4 separate regions of the Homo sapiens genome follow, and all the other regions are linked to region 1. Evidence: promoter capture Hi-C in human tissues and cell types (Jung and others, 2019). All regions are on one chromosome and are shown on one strand. Each heading gives the region's core, a stretch centred on a gene start or on the middle of the fragment in contact. The rest is flanking DNA. Distances are from core to core; before and after follow the strand shown.

Region 1 (2,894 bases), core at 124-2,623:
AGCCTCCCAAGTAGCTGGGATTACAGGTGCCCACCACCATGCCCGGCTAATTTTTGTATTTTTAGTAGAGACGGGGTTTCATCATATTGGTCAGGCTGGCCTCAAAATCCTGAGCTCAGGGGATCCGCCCGCCTCGGCCTCCCAAAGTGCTGGGATTACAGCCATGAGCCACCGCGCCCGGCCTGCATGCTGGTTTTGAAGTTTGTTTCTGAATCTCAGGATCATGCTAGCTGGCATGACTGTGCTGATGGCTGCCTCCACCAGCAGACAGTGGAGGGTGAGGTGAACTCACTGCTTGAGATCCTCCGTTTTAACAAGTGCTGATATAACGCCAGGCGGTTAAATGCTTCCTACTGTCTCGCTGTACACTACGAGAGTTTTTATCAGACGCATTTCTTCAGTCCAGGTGTAACTCTTTGCTTCCCCTGGGTCTGATGGAAACCAGGCCCCGAGGAAGGAGACGGGAGAGACACAGCCCTGCTGGGCTCCCGGCCTCTGCGGAGAACTGTCCTGGGGTGGGGTCGGGAGATGGACTGTTTTCCTAATTTATTTCAAACCAGGAACCCTGGCTGTGTGCATTCTGCCTCACCCCCCGTCTCCATATTTTTTAATATTCTTTTCATGAGCTAGCAGGGATGATGTAAATACACTGAGCTGACCGAGGGCCGGATGGGAGGTTCTAGTGAAGCCTGCGGTTTGCTGACGACTTTCCCCCTCAGTGCAGTCCAATTATTTGGGAGCCGTTAAACACCGCATGCTGAGAAGACACCGTCATTGTTCACACAGGAGCTAGATAGACTTTGTTCCCTCTACACTGCATTTTTTAAAAGTTTTCTATCAAAAACACATTTCATAATCGAAAAGTTTTCTAAATGATAAAACCGCATGTCACAGATTAATCTCAACATTATGTTGAGTGAAGGAAGCCAGACACCGAAGGCCACACATTGTATTTGAAATGTCCAGGAAAGGCAGAACTGTAGAGACAGCAGATGGGTTGTTGCCCGAGGGGTGAGGGCACGCCCCGCAGCGGGCGGCAGTGACAGGCACGCCTGCACACATCTGCTCCCGCATCACCCCACGCCACACACGGGGAAGTGTGCGCACTCCTTCCAGGGACAGCGAGAGGAGCCCCTGCTCTGTCAACGCTCTGAATGTGCTGCGGCTGCCGGCAGAAGCTAGCAGGCTCCTCTGCTGAGGAGCTGGTGCCTGTCCAGACGCAGAAGAAAACTGACACCTCCCACGTGGGGGACAGAAAGGTCCTCTCATTGGTGCCACCTGCAGAGATAGACAAGGAGCGCCTGGCCATCAGAGGACGCTCCTGACAGTGACACAGTGACCACTATAAAAGTCAGGCGGGCTGAGGAGGAGACAAAGGCCAGGACGCTCCGCAGCTGTTGGGGAAGAGGAGCTGCCTCCTGGGATGGAGAAATTTAAGGCTGCGATGTTGCTGGGGAGCGTCGGCGATGCTCTTGGCTACAGAAATGTCTGCAAGGAGAACAGCACTGTAGGCATGAAGATCCAGGAGGAGCTGCAACGTTCCGGGGGCCTGGACCACCTCGTACTCTCGCCAGGAGAATGGCCCGTGAGTGACAACACCATCATGCACATCGCAACCGCCGAGGCCCTCACCACAGGTAGGCTGGGCCCACCGCGCTCCGGTGTGCGGGCTGGAGGGAACACTGGCTGCTCGAGTTCTCCCAGTAAGCCTCCGAGAGCTTTGAAGGCAGTGCGGTCCTTCAGCGGATGGTGTTACCTGATACCGCTGCTAAAAGTGGCAATTTAATCTGAGTGTCCCTCAAATTTGATATGCGGCAGATCACGTTTCTCCTGTGGTTTCTCTGAGGGTGACAGTATTACTTTACTTTGCAGTTATTAAGATTCAGTTTTTAAACGTGACTTTTCACTTGTATTTGTAAAGCGTTAACTAGGCCTAGCACCTTCTGTTTCTAATAGAGTTAAAGCCAGTGAAGCCTCTCTCGGCCGTGCTGGTGGGAGTAGGGTGAGGGCTCACTTCTCGCTGCAGAGATTAAGCCTTCTTGTTCTGAATTCATTACAAAGGGATGTAAAATAAGCCAGTTTGAAATGTGAACCCATTAATACTGTTTGGGGATTAGTTCTAAATTCCAATGAATTAAAGTTAGAATATCATCTCCCAAAATGGTTCAGCTTGGAGAGTTGCCCATACACAAATGTGTTCTAAGAAAATGACATAAACTTGATTGGACGAGATTGGAGACAAAGCTTCTTAAAATACCTTTAAGTAGCAAATTGATTTTAGGATCAAGCTTTTGCATGAATTTCAGGGAAATGGCAGGTGCACAGACATGCAGTCCAGCTTTCCTACGAGGCATTTGCTCTTCAAAACCCCGTGGGTGCTGTTTATCATGGCAGAATTAAAATCTGAGGGCTGCAGCTAAGTCAATGAAATCTCACTTATGCGTTCACTCCACCATTCTGTTCATCTGCCATGGACGTGCCCAGTTTAGTTCTGTGCTCACAGCAGAGGAATGCCATCGAGCCTGTGGCCGGTCCCTAAATAACGGGAGAGCTGAAGCGCCGGCGATAAGATAAGGCTCCCGGCTTGCTGGAGACGGGGAGGCGTCCGACTGTTCACAGCCTTGGCGTCCAGGAGCTCCTGCTTCTGGTTTTCCAGGCGGCCACTCGTGTGCCCTTAGGACCAGCAACCCCATGCTTGTGCCCCGCAGCCCAGAACAGGTGCACCCCACACACAGACACCTGTGGGACACAGCTCCGGCTTGTTTTCACCGTAGACGGCTGGAGCTCACTCTTGAGTTTGGCTTCCTCTGGGCGTCTGATGCCGTGTGTGCGCTCATACCAGCTCTGCATGTCCCATTTCTGGTAGCACTTGGTGGGCGTTTTGTAAATGGCAG
Region 2 (2,894 bases), core at 156-2,655, 230 kb after region 1:
CGGTCTGTTCTCTCACTTAAGTAATTAACGGCCAGGTCACACTAAAAATGTATACATGACGTCAAGTCAAAGCCAAGACATCTACAAAGCCTAAGACGCTGGTTGTGCAGCTGCAGGAAAGACCTGGGATTCAGGCTAGATTCTGAGGAGTAAACTGTGCTTAAAGAGACATTTAGAGACCCATGCAGGCATCTAAGAACCCTGTCACCACTGCGGACTGTGACTGTGGACCTGAAGGCCAAGAGGGTCAGTGGTGCCCTCTCACAGGAGCTGAGGAGTTCACCTTCCCTGCTTTTCTCATCGTGCTGTTCAACCACAGCACTGAACACAGACAGAATCCTCAACAGAACTTCTATGTCTCAGCTCTCAATCATGTGGGTGAGGGAAGATGGATGAGGTCGTGTTTTGATGAAAAAGTGAACAAGCTTACCATTTGTCTGCAGTGGTCCTGCCAGCACGTGTTAATCTTCTTTAAAAATAAAACACTATCTAGTGAGTCTGTACAGATCTGCTAAGGAAAACTTTAAAAATGCTGGCCAATTTAATTATTACCTTTTTTTTTTTTTTTGAGATGGAGTCTCGCTCTGTCGCCCAGGCTGGAGTGCAGTGGCACGATCTTAGCTCAGCAGTGCAGCCTCTGCCTCCCAGGTTCAAGCGATTCTCCTGCCTCAGCCTCTTGAGTAGCTGGGATTACAGGCGTGTGCCACCACGCCCAGCTAATTTTTTGTATTTTTAGTAGAGACGGGGTTTCACCATGTTGGTCAGGCTGATCTCGAACTCCTGACCTTGTGATCCACTGGCCTCAGCCTCCCAAAGTGCCGGGATTACAGGCGTGAGCCACCGCAACCGGCCATTATTACAATTTTAACCCCTTAATTTCAGCTACCTTCTCCACTGAATACTACACACCATTCAGTAACTGGAATACTGAAAGAATATTAGTCTTGAATGTTCATGTCCCCCCAAAATTCATAGGCTGAAGCTCTCACTCTACGGTAATGGTGTTAGGAGGCAGGGCCTCTGGGAGGTGATTAGGTCATGAGAGTGGACAAGCCTCAAGAATGGGGTTACAAAAGAGACCCCAGAGAGCTCCCCTGCCTCTTCCACCACATAAGGATGCAGTGAGAAGGTGCTGGCTATGGACCAGGAAGCGGGGCCCCACCAGACATGCAATCTGCCAGTGCCTTGACCCTGGACCTCCAGCCTCCAGAGCTGTGAGCAACAGACTCCTGCTGTTGATGAGCCACACTCTATGGTGTTTTGTCATGGCAGCCCCAGTGGGCTAAGATACACTAGAAGTTCAATCATGGATCTCTGTATCTCATCACCAATGTGCACTCAGCTTGCCTGTGCTGCTTTCCCTTCCCACGGCCCCGCCTGCCTCTGGCCGCTCGCCACTCCCTCTCCAGCCTCCCTTCATCCTCTCCTTCCTTCACTGCCAGACACCTTCAAGTCCCTGCCGGCAGAAACACACCCAGGCCTTAAGTGCCCTGGGGGTAGGTGGCGGGACAAAAGGCCCCACTTCACAAAGGGCAGACACTGAACATACTCCCACAGGGGGGCTCCTGGAGATGGTGACTGGCCTGGTAAGAGTCACTAGGACTATTTTTTAAAAATTAAAAGAGATGGCACCTCACTATACTCCTAGGCTGGTCTTGAACACGTGGTCTTAAGTAATCCTCCTCAGTCTCCCAAAGTGCTAGGATTACAGGTATGAGCCAGTGTGCCCAGCCTGTGGCAAAGTGCAGCTGGACAGGAAAATGGCTCAGGTTTAACTTCCAGCCTCAATGAAAACTAACATGAACTCTCATCCATGCACCAAATTAGGAACACTCTTACCTTGACTCTTAGAATGTGTATTTTTAGGAAAAGGCCCAAAAAGTAGTTTAGGACAAAGAACCCAGAATATGGGCTCCTAGAGCAAGTGGTCTGGTGTCCCTCAGGTTCATGCAAAGCTGAGAATCATCAATGACAATAAACTGCTTTATGGTTTACGAAACACTCTTCACATCCACTCTCACTGAAAATCTCCCCAACCTCGTGGTGCAGACATTGTTCCCTTTGTACAGATTAAGAAAATGGCTTGTCAAAGGGGACAGAACATGGACTTCCTACATTTTAACTCTTGATCCACCGCCTGTCAGCAACACAATACTGGCCAAACCAAGGGACTTCTCTAGGTCTGTTTCTGCCGTGCAGCAAGACACTTCACACTCAAGAGCCAATGTGAGGTGGTGACAACATCCTCACACACAGAGAGGAGGAAAAACACATCAGTTAAGTAGGATGCACAAATCAGACATGAGCTGGAGTCTCAGGGTGGCAACGAGTGGCCTGACAAAGAAAGAGTGCCAGGGAGGGTAGGGTGCCAGGCAGAGCCTGAGGAGGAATAAACAGTGCTGAGGATAGCCAAGGGGCTCCCGGGGGGTCTGAGTCCTTGTCACACCAGGAAGTGCTGTGACCAAAGCTACAGGGGCCTGGCTAAGACAGCTTACTCTATTTTTTCTTGAGGCTTTGCAGAATTCTCAGAAGCACTGCCAGAAAATTAAAAACAGACACTTACAGCAAAGACCTAATGGTTGAATGGTTAACAGGTTCCTCTGGAAGTACTCTTTACAAATTGTTCAAAATTATAATGGCTCATTATATTAGGAATCTACAGAAACAGTCTGGACAAAACAAAAAAACCCATCCCAAGTGCATCTGGACAGGCTTCAAGGACCCCCAACAGCCATCCTGCAGCTCTGACTCCAGGAGCTGGACGGGAACTGCGGCCTGGACCTCCCAGCAAGCCTCTCTGCGGGCAGGCGGGCCACAGCAGCCGAAGGCGGAGCTTTGCTTCCAGATGAGGGTGCACAGATCCTTTAAACTTAACGGGGTTAAACTGACACCAG
Region 3 (2,894 bases), core at 184-2,683, 190 kb after region 1:
TGGTCTGCCACACTCTACCCCTGAGAGCAGAGTGGGCGCCCTGGTCTGCCACTCTCTACCCGAGAGCAGAGCAGGTGCCCTGGTCTGCCACACTCCACTCTTGCTCACCTCTGCTTCGCGCTGGGCCTGATTGTTTGCAGTGGCAACAGGAGACTTGCTCCAGCTGGTGGGAGGAAGGGGCAGTGAACCTGATGGTGCTTTTGGAGCTTCCCAGGGCCCTGAGGACGGCACCTCACCTCTGCAGGGAAGGGGGCAAATGTGGGCTGATGGACAGTGGCACTTCCACCAGACTCTTAAGTGTTCGACTATTTAGTGCATCTCAACTTTATTCCCTTGATGGAATGGGAGGCTCAAACTGCACAACATGGAATCTGGGGACTTTCCCTCCAAAGCACGTGTGGCCGGTCCTGTCCCTGAGAGGCCAGGCGTCATCAGAGTTCAGTATTTCCTGGGTTGATAAATACATGTAAAAAACGTTTCATAATACTTTCCCGGCTTATCCTGCATCCCACACGTGGCAGGACAGTAAATCTCAGTTCTGAAAACAACGCGGGTTGACAGGCCTGGGCTGACTTTCATAAGCAACAGCAACAGTAGACTATTACCGTGGTGGAAAACGCGGTGTAGGCTGTAAACGCTGAGTAAGTTAGTTATTGTTATCATTTCCTTAAAATCTTGTGATGTAACCTTGACCGCTACTACTATGAGAAAAGTGTTCAGCTTTCCATGTCCCATCTACCTCTTCCCTTCCTGAAAATATGAACAAGCGCGCACCATCCCTGGGAAGGAGAGTTTTAGGGCTCTATCATTTCTGCAGTGGCAATGAGCAACACCTGGAATAAAGAGCTTCACATTTGCCAGTTTTTCTACATTCAGTGTATACACAAAGCACCATGAATAATGCAGGTCAAATGATATGACTGAACATAGAATTAAACATGCTTTGTCAATTGTTTAGCAAATACTACAAATTTAATTATGCTAATGTTACATTTACCTTTACTGGAAATTTCAGCTGATTATATAATTCAGAAACTAGAAGATTATGACCAAGAGTCTTTCTCATCTTCATTATTCTGACGATAGCAGCATCAATCTGATATTGTCTATCCTGAAACACTCTCTCAGTGGTGCTAACCTGTTCCTCAACCTGTATAAAAAAGAAAAAAAAAGTTAAGTGTAAAACTGTATTTTCTTTTTATTTTTTGCGATGGAGTCTCACTCAGTTGCCTGGGCTAGAGTGCAATGGTGTGATCTCGGCTCACTGCAACCTCCGCCTCCCAGGATCAAGCGATTCTCTTGCCTCAGCCTCCCGAGTAGCTGGGATCACAGGCACCTGCTGTCATGCCCGGCTACTTTTTGTATTTTTGTACAGGCAGGGTTTCACTATGTTGGCCAGGCTGGTTTTGAACTCCTGACCTCAGATGATCCGCCCACCTTGGCCTCCCAAAGTGCTGGGATTACAGGTGTGAGCTACCACACCTGGCCTATATTTCAATATTAATGACCTGATGTTACCGAATTTGATGGGAAATGGTTTTTTTTTTTTTTTTGAGACGGAGTCTCACTCTGTCACCCAGGCTGGAGTGCAGTGGCGCGATCTCGGCTCACTACAAGCTCCGCCCCCCGGGTTCACGCCATTCTCCTGTCTCAGCCTCTCAAGTAGCTGGGACTACGGTGCCCCCCCACCATGCCCGGCTCATTTTTGTATTTTTAGTAGAGACAGGGTTTCACCATGTTAGCCAGGCTGGTCTCGATCTCCTGACCTCGTGATCCACCTGGCTCGGCCTCCCAAAGTGCTGGGATTACAGGCGTGAGCCACCGTGCCTGGCCGGAAATGTTCTTTTGATGCAAAGAAAGGTCAGACATTGGATGAATCCTACTTTATTATGCATGTTTACTTGTTGTAGTAAAAGGTACCTTCCCAGAATAGCAAAACTCCAAAACCAAAACTTAAAAAATATTTTTAAAAGTTATTTTCCTTATAAGAAAGCTGCAACAACTCTATGTGTGATGTAGATTAAAACTAGCAGCACAGTAAACAAAACATAATGACCATCAGGATATATTCCAGAAATGTTAAGTGTTGATCAACATTAGGAAATCTGTGAATATAAGTGAGAGCACTGTAGCAGTTGAAAGGTTAGATTACATGACCATCTTGATAGATGCTGAAAAGGCATGATAAAATTGATTTTTTGATTTAAAACAAACATTAGCATACAAGGATGAATAAAAAAGCATCTGAACATGATAAAACATGGTTATCAGAAACAAACAGCAAATACTAGAGACAACTTAACCTTAGTCCAACAGGAACCTGATGGGGATCTGCAGTTGAAATGAGGGCTGGGGGAAGGTCTGTGCATACATATGAGGCAAGTATGCTTCAGGATGGGAGAGACTCCAAGCTTTCATCACATTTTCAACAGGATCCATGACCCCCAAAAAGTTAACATCCTCTGAACTAGAGATAAAATTAGGAAGCTCAGCTGCACTGCTATTCCTTAAAAACATTACTTTAGAGGTTCTAACTATGCAATACAGGAACAGACTAAAGAGGTATATTGAAAAGGTGCAGACAAAACGATCATTATTTGTAGATGAGCTGGAAAATCCAAGAAAATCAACAGAAAAACTTTCAAAGCTAAAGAGTTTTGTAAAGTGGCTGGAAATAAAATAAATATACAAAGACAAATAGCATTAATACATACATTCTGATAAAAACCGTCAGAAATGTAAAGAAAAAAGGTCCCCTTTATAAGATATCAGCATTTCATTAGCCTGTCTTGCTTAAAACTCTAGTGGTTTTCCAAATGCTTCATGGATCTGAGCCATCTTCAGAGGGTCCAGCTGTGGCTCCCTGATCAGGCCTGTCTGGCTCAGCTTCCCCT
Region 4 (2,894 bases), core at 115-2,614, 130 kb before region 1:
TAAAGATAAGGAAAAAGTCAGAAGGCACCACCCCATCACCACCCAACTGCAGTGTGGTATCCAAGGCCACAACTTGTGGGTGGTGACCGCAGCTTCAGAGATCAGATCCTTCCATCTTTCACCTTCATCCCGCTTCAGACGCTTTAAAAGTCTGAAAATAAACACTACTGTAGCTTATGTGTTGTCATTCTGAAATAAAGGCAGAGAACTACAAAGAATTTAGTGCGAGGCAAACATTCGTGTGCAGCATGAAGCAAACATACTTACATCTTTTGCCATGTTACCAGATCCGGGAAATCAATGCTACAAATGTTCACCTTCCCAGAGAAGAAAAATGATTTTTCTGGTAAAAAAAAAAAAAAAAGTAAGGAAAAACAAGAAATAAGTAAGAATGAAAAACGAAGTTTAAAAAATAACACATCTCAAAGGAAACGCGGACCTTCCTTCCCAAAGGCACCCTCCATCCTGAGAGCGGAGCTGGCCAAACCGACTCCCACACTCAGGATTTTCAGTCGCCTCGCCAGACGGAAATGCCCCCTGCGGAAAAGTGGCCCGCGGGCCCGCAGGGTCACCACCACTACCCCCAGGTCCCCGACGGCCCGCCCAGCGGCCGAGGGTGGGGCCGAGCCCCAGGAGCCAGGGCGCAGCGCCTCCCTCCCGCCGCTGCAGGGGGGTGCCCCACCACCCACCTGGGCACAGCCCCGGGGTCCCGGCGCAACGTGCAGGCTCGCGGCGTCCACCCCAGACCCCGGCGGCGCCCGCCCGGCTGACCGGTAACTCTGACAGGTGGGCTTCCGGGGTCCGCGCCGCGCGCCTGTCACTAGGCCTCGGGCCGCCTCCGCACGAGGCGCCTCCCGCGCGCGCCGGAACCGGGTCCCCGCGGGCCGCCGTGGGGCGGCCTCCCCTCCCCCGCCCTGCGCGCTCCGGCCGACCCTGGCCCCAGCCCCGGCCCCGGCCCCGGCCCCACCTCCAGCGTGGGGCGCGGACGCTGCTGTCGGCCGGGAGGGCCGGGCCCGGGACCCCCGCCCCGCGGTCACCTGGGGAGCCCCTACCAGCGCCGAGCGCGCGGGGTCCCCGAGGCACAGGAGCGCGCAGGGCGCGGGAGGGCGCGGGTCGGGGCCGCGCGGCGCCTACACGCGGCCGGGGCAAGGGATGGGGTGGCCGGGGGTCCCGCCCGCACCCCCGGCTCCCGCCCGCGGCTCCCGCGGCATCCCCTGCCCACCCGCACCTGGCTGCCCGGTCCGGCCGCGCGGGCGGGGACGCGGAGAGGGCGCGGTGCGGAGCGCGGGGCGGCGCGGAGAGGCGCGGGCTGGGGCCGGGCCGGGCGGTCCCGGCCGTGGCGGGGTCCCTGCCCTGGGCCGAGTGGCGCCGGGACGCGGGGCTCACCCTGGCCGAGCGTCGGGCCGGCGTGACGTGCGCGCGGCGCGGTGACGTGGGCGGCGGCGGGCCCGCTCCGCGCAGCGCGCCTGCGCGCCTTTTCGCGCCTTCGGCGCCCTCCTCCTCCTCTTCTGCTGCTCCTCGGTCTCCCGCTCCTCCCGCCAGTGCTGCGCGCCCTGGGAGAGCGGGGAGGGGCTGTGCGCGCGTGTCCGTGTGTGCGCGTGCGCGTGCGGAGATGTAGCTGGGGCCTGCGCCGGGACGGGCAGTGCGCGCGCGCGGCGTGCGCTCGGCGGCCAAGGGACTGTGTTTGTGCGCGCCTCTGACTGTGTGTGTCCGGAGAGAGAGGTGGCCGGCTGTGTGCAAGAGTGTGTGTGCACATGGGGGAGCGGGGCCGGCTATGTGCACGAGTGTGTGTGCATGTGGGGGAGCGGGAGCTGGTGTGTGCACGTGGGGGAGCGGGGCCGGCTGTGTGCAAGAGTGTGTGTGCACGTGGGGGAGCAGGGACTAGTGTGTGCACTAGTGCATGTGCACGTGAGGGAGCGGGGACTGGTGTGTGCACTAGTGTGTGTGCATGTGAGGGAGCGGGGACTGGTGTGTGCACTCGTGTGTGTGCATGTGAGGGAGCGGGGACTGGTGTGTGCACTCGTGTGTGTGCATGTGAGGGAGCGGGGACTGGTGTGTGCACTCGTGTGTGTGCATGTGAGGGAGCGGGGACTGGTGTGTGCACTCGTGTGTGTGCATGTGAGGGAGCGGGGACTGGTGTGTGCACTCGTGTGTGTGCATGTGAGGGAGCGGGGACTGGTGTGTGCACTAGTGTGTGCATGTGAGGGAGCGGGGACTGGTGTGTGCACTAGTGTGTGCATGTGAGGGAGCGGGGACTGGTGTGTGCACTAGTGTGTGCATGTGAGGGAGCGGGGACTGGTGTGTGCACTCGTGTGTGTGCATGTGAGGGAGCGGGGACTGGTGTGTGCACTAGTGTGTGTGCATGTGAGGGAGCGGGGACTGGTGTGTGCACTAGTGTGTGTGCATGTGAGGGAGCGGGGACTGGTGTGTGCACTAGTGTGTGTGCACATGGGGCAGCAGGTAGGGGGCCGGGTATGTCAGGATGTGTGTTTGTGTGCAGGGAGCAGAGAGTGCCGGCTGTGTGCGCGAGTGTGGGGGGGGGAGCAGGGACTAGTGTGTGCAGGAGTGTGTGTGCACTTGGAAGAGCGGGGCCGGGTGTGTGCTTGAGTGTGTGTGCTCAAAGAGGAGAGCCAGCTGTGTGTGCGCCTGTATGCACGGAGGAGAGGGGGCCGCTTGTGTGCACGAGTGTGTGTGCACATAAAGGGCCGACTGTGTGTGGGGCTGTGCATGTATGGAGAGCAGGTGTGTGCATAGACGTGTGTATGTGGACACACGGAGGAGAGCAGGTGTGTGTGCGTGCGTGGCACAGAGGCCTCTGCCTCTGCTGGACCCGGTGGCCTCCAAGCCCACGACGGGCCTCCGCCCAGATTCCCAACAATTCTGGGCGTCCTCGG

Evidence for each region. Contacts are between HindIII fragments. The study calls those that stand out against the background at their distance.
Region 2: a contact is called between a fragment that was not itself captured here and the fragment with the promoter of ADPRHL1 in region 1, in 1 of the 25 tissues and cell types used here (H1 embryonic stem cells).
Region 3: a contact is called between a fragment that was not itself captured here and the fragment with the promoter of ADPRHL1 in region 1, in 1 of the 25 tissues and cell types used here (mesendoderm cells).
Region 4: the fragment with the promoter of TFDP1 here is called in contact with the fragment with the promoter of ADPRHL1 in region 1 in 1 of the 25 tissues and cell types used here (heart right ventricle).

Annotation. Positions count from the first base shown.
Region 1 is chr13:113,451,967-113,454,860 of GRCh38, reverse strand. ADPRHL1 (ADP-ribosylhydrolase like 1) reads left to right here and starts at 1,373. Exons shown (of 8, transcript NM_001394807.1): 1 at 1,373-1,637. The coding sequence starts at 1,424. RefSeq lists an enhancer at 2,840-2,894. The HindIII fragment of the contact is 9,965 bases long and covers 1-2,894 here.
Region 2 is chr13:113,225,582-113,228,475 of GRCh38, reverse strand. It overlaps CUL4A (cullin 4A), which reads right to left. Exons shown (of 20, transcript NM_001008895.4): 4 at 431-500. Among named protein-coding and RNA genes, the nearest start is that of CUL4A, 17 kb to the right of the region's middle. The HindIII fragment of the contact is 5,587 bases long and covers 1-2,894 here.
Region 3 is chr13:113,258,863-113,261,756 of GRCh38, reverse strand. It overlaps CUL4A (cullin 4A), which reads right to left. Exons shown (of 20, transcript NM_001008895.4): 19 at 998-1,150. Among named protein-coding and RNA genes, the nearest start is that of MIR8075, 2.6 kb to the left of the region's middle. The HindIII fragment of the contact is 6,677 bases long and covers 1-2,894 here.
Region 4 is chr13:113,583,223-113,586,116 of GRCh38, reverse strand. TFDP1 (transcription factor Dp-1) reads right to left here and starts at 1,364. Exons shown (of 12, transcript NM_007111.5): 1 at 1,229-1,364; 2 at 268-343. The coding sequence starts at 279. RefSeq lists silencers at 532-901, 1,272-1,601 and enhancers at 1,570-2,541, 2,542-2,894. The HindIII fragment of the contact is 44,568 bases long and covers 1-2,894 here.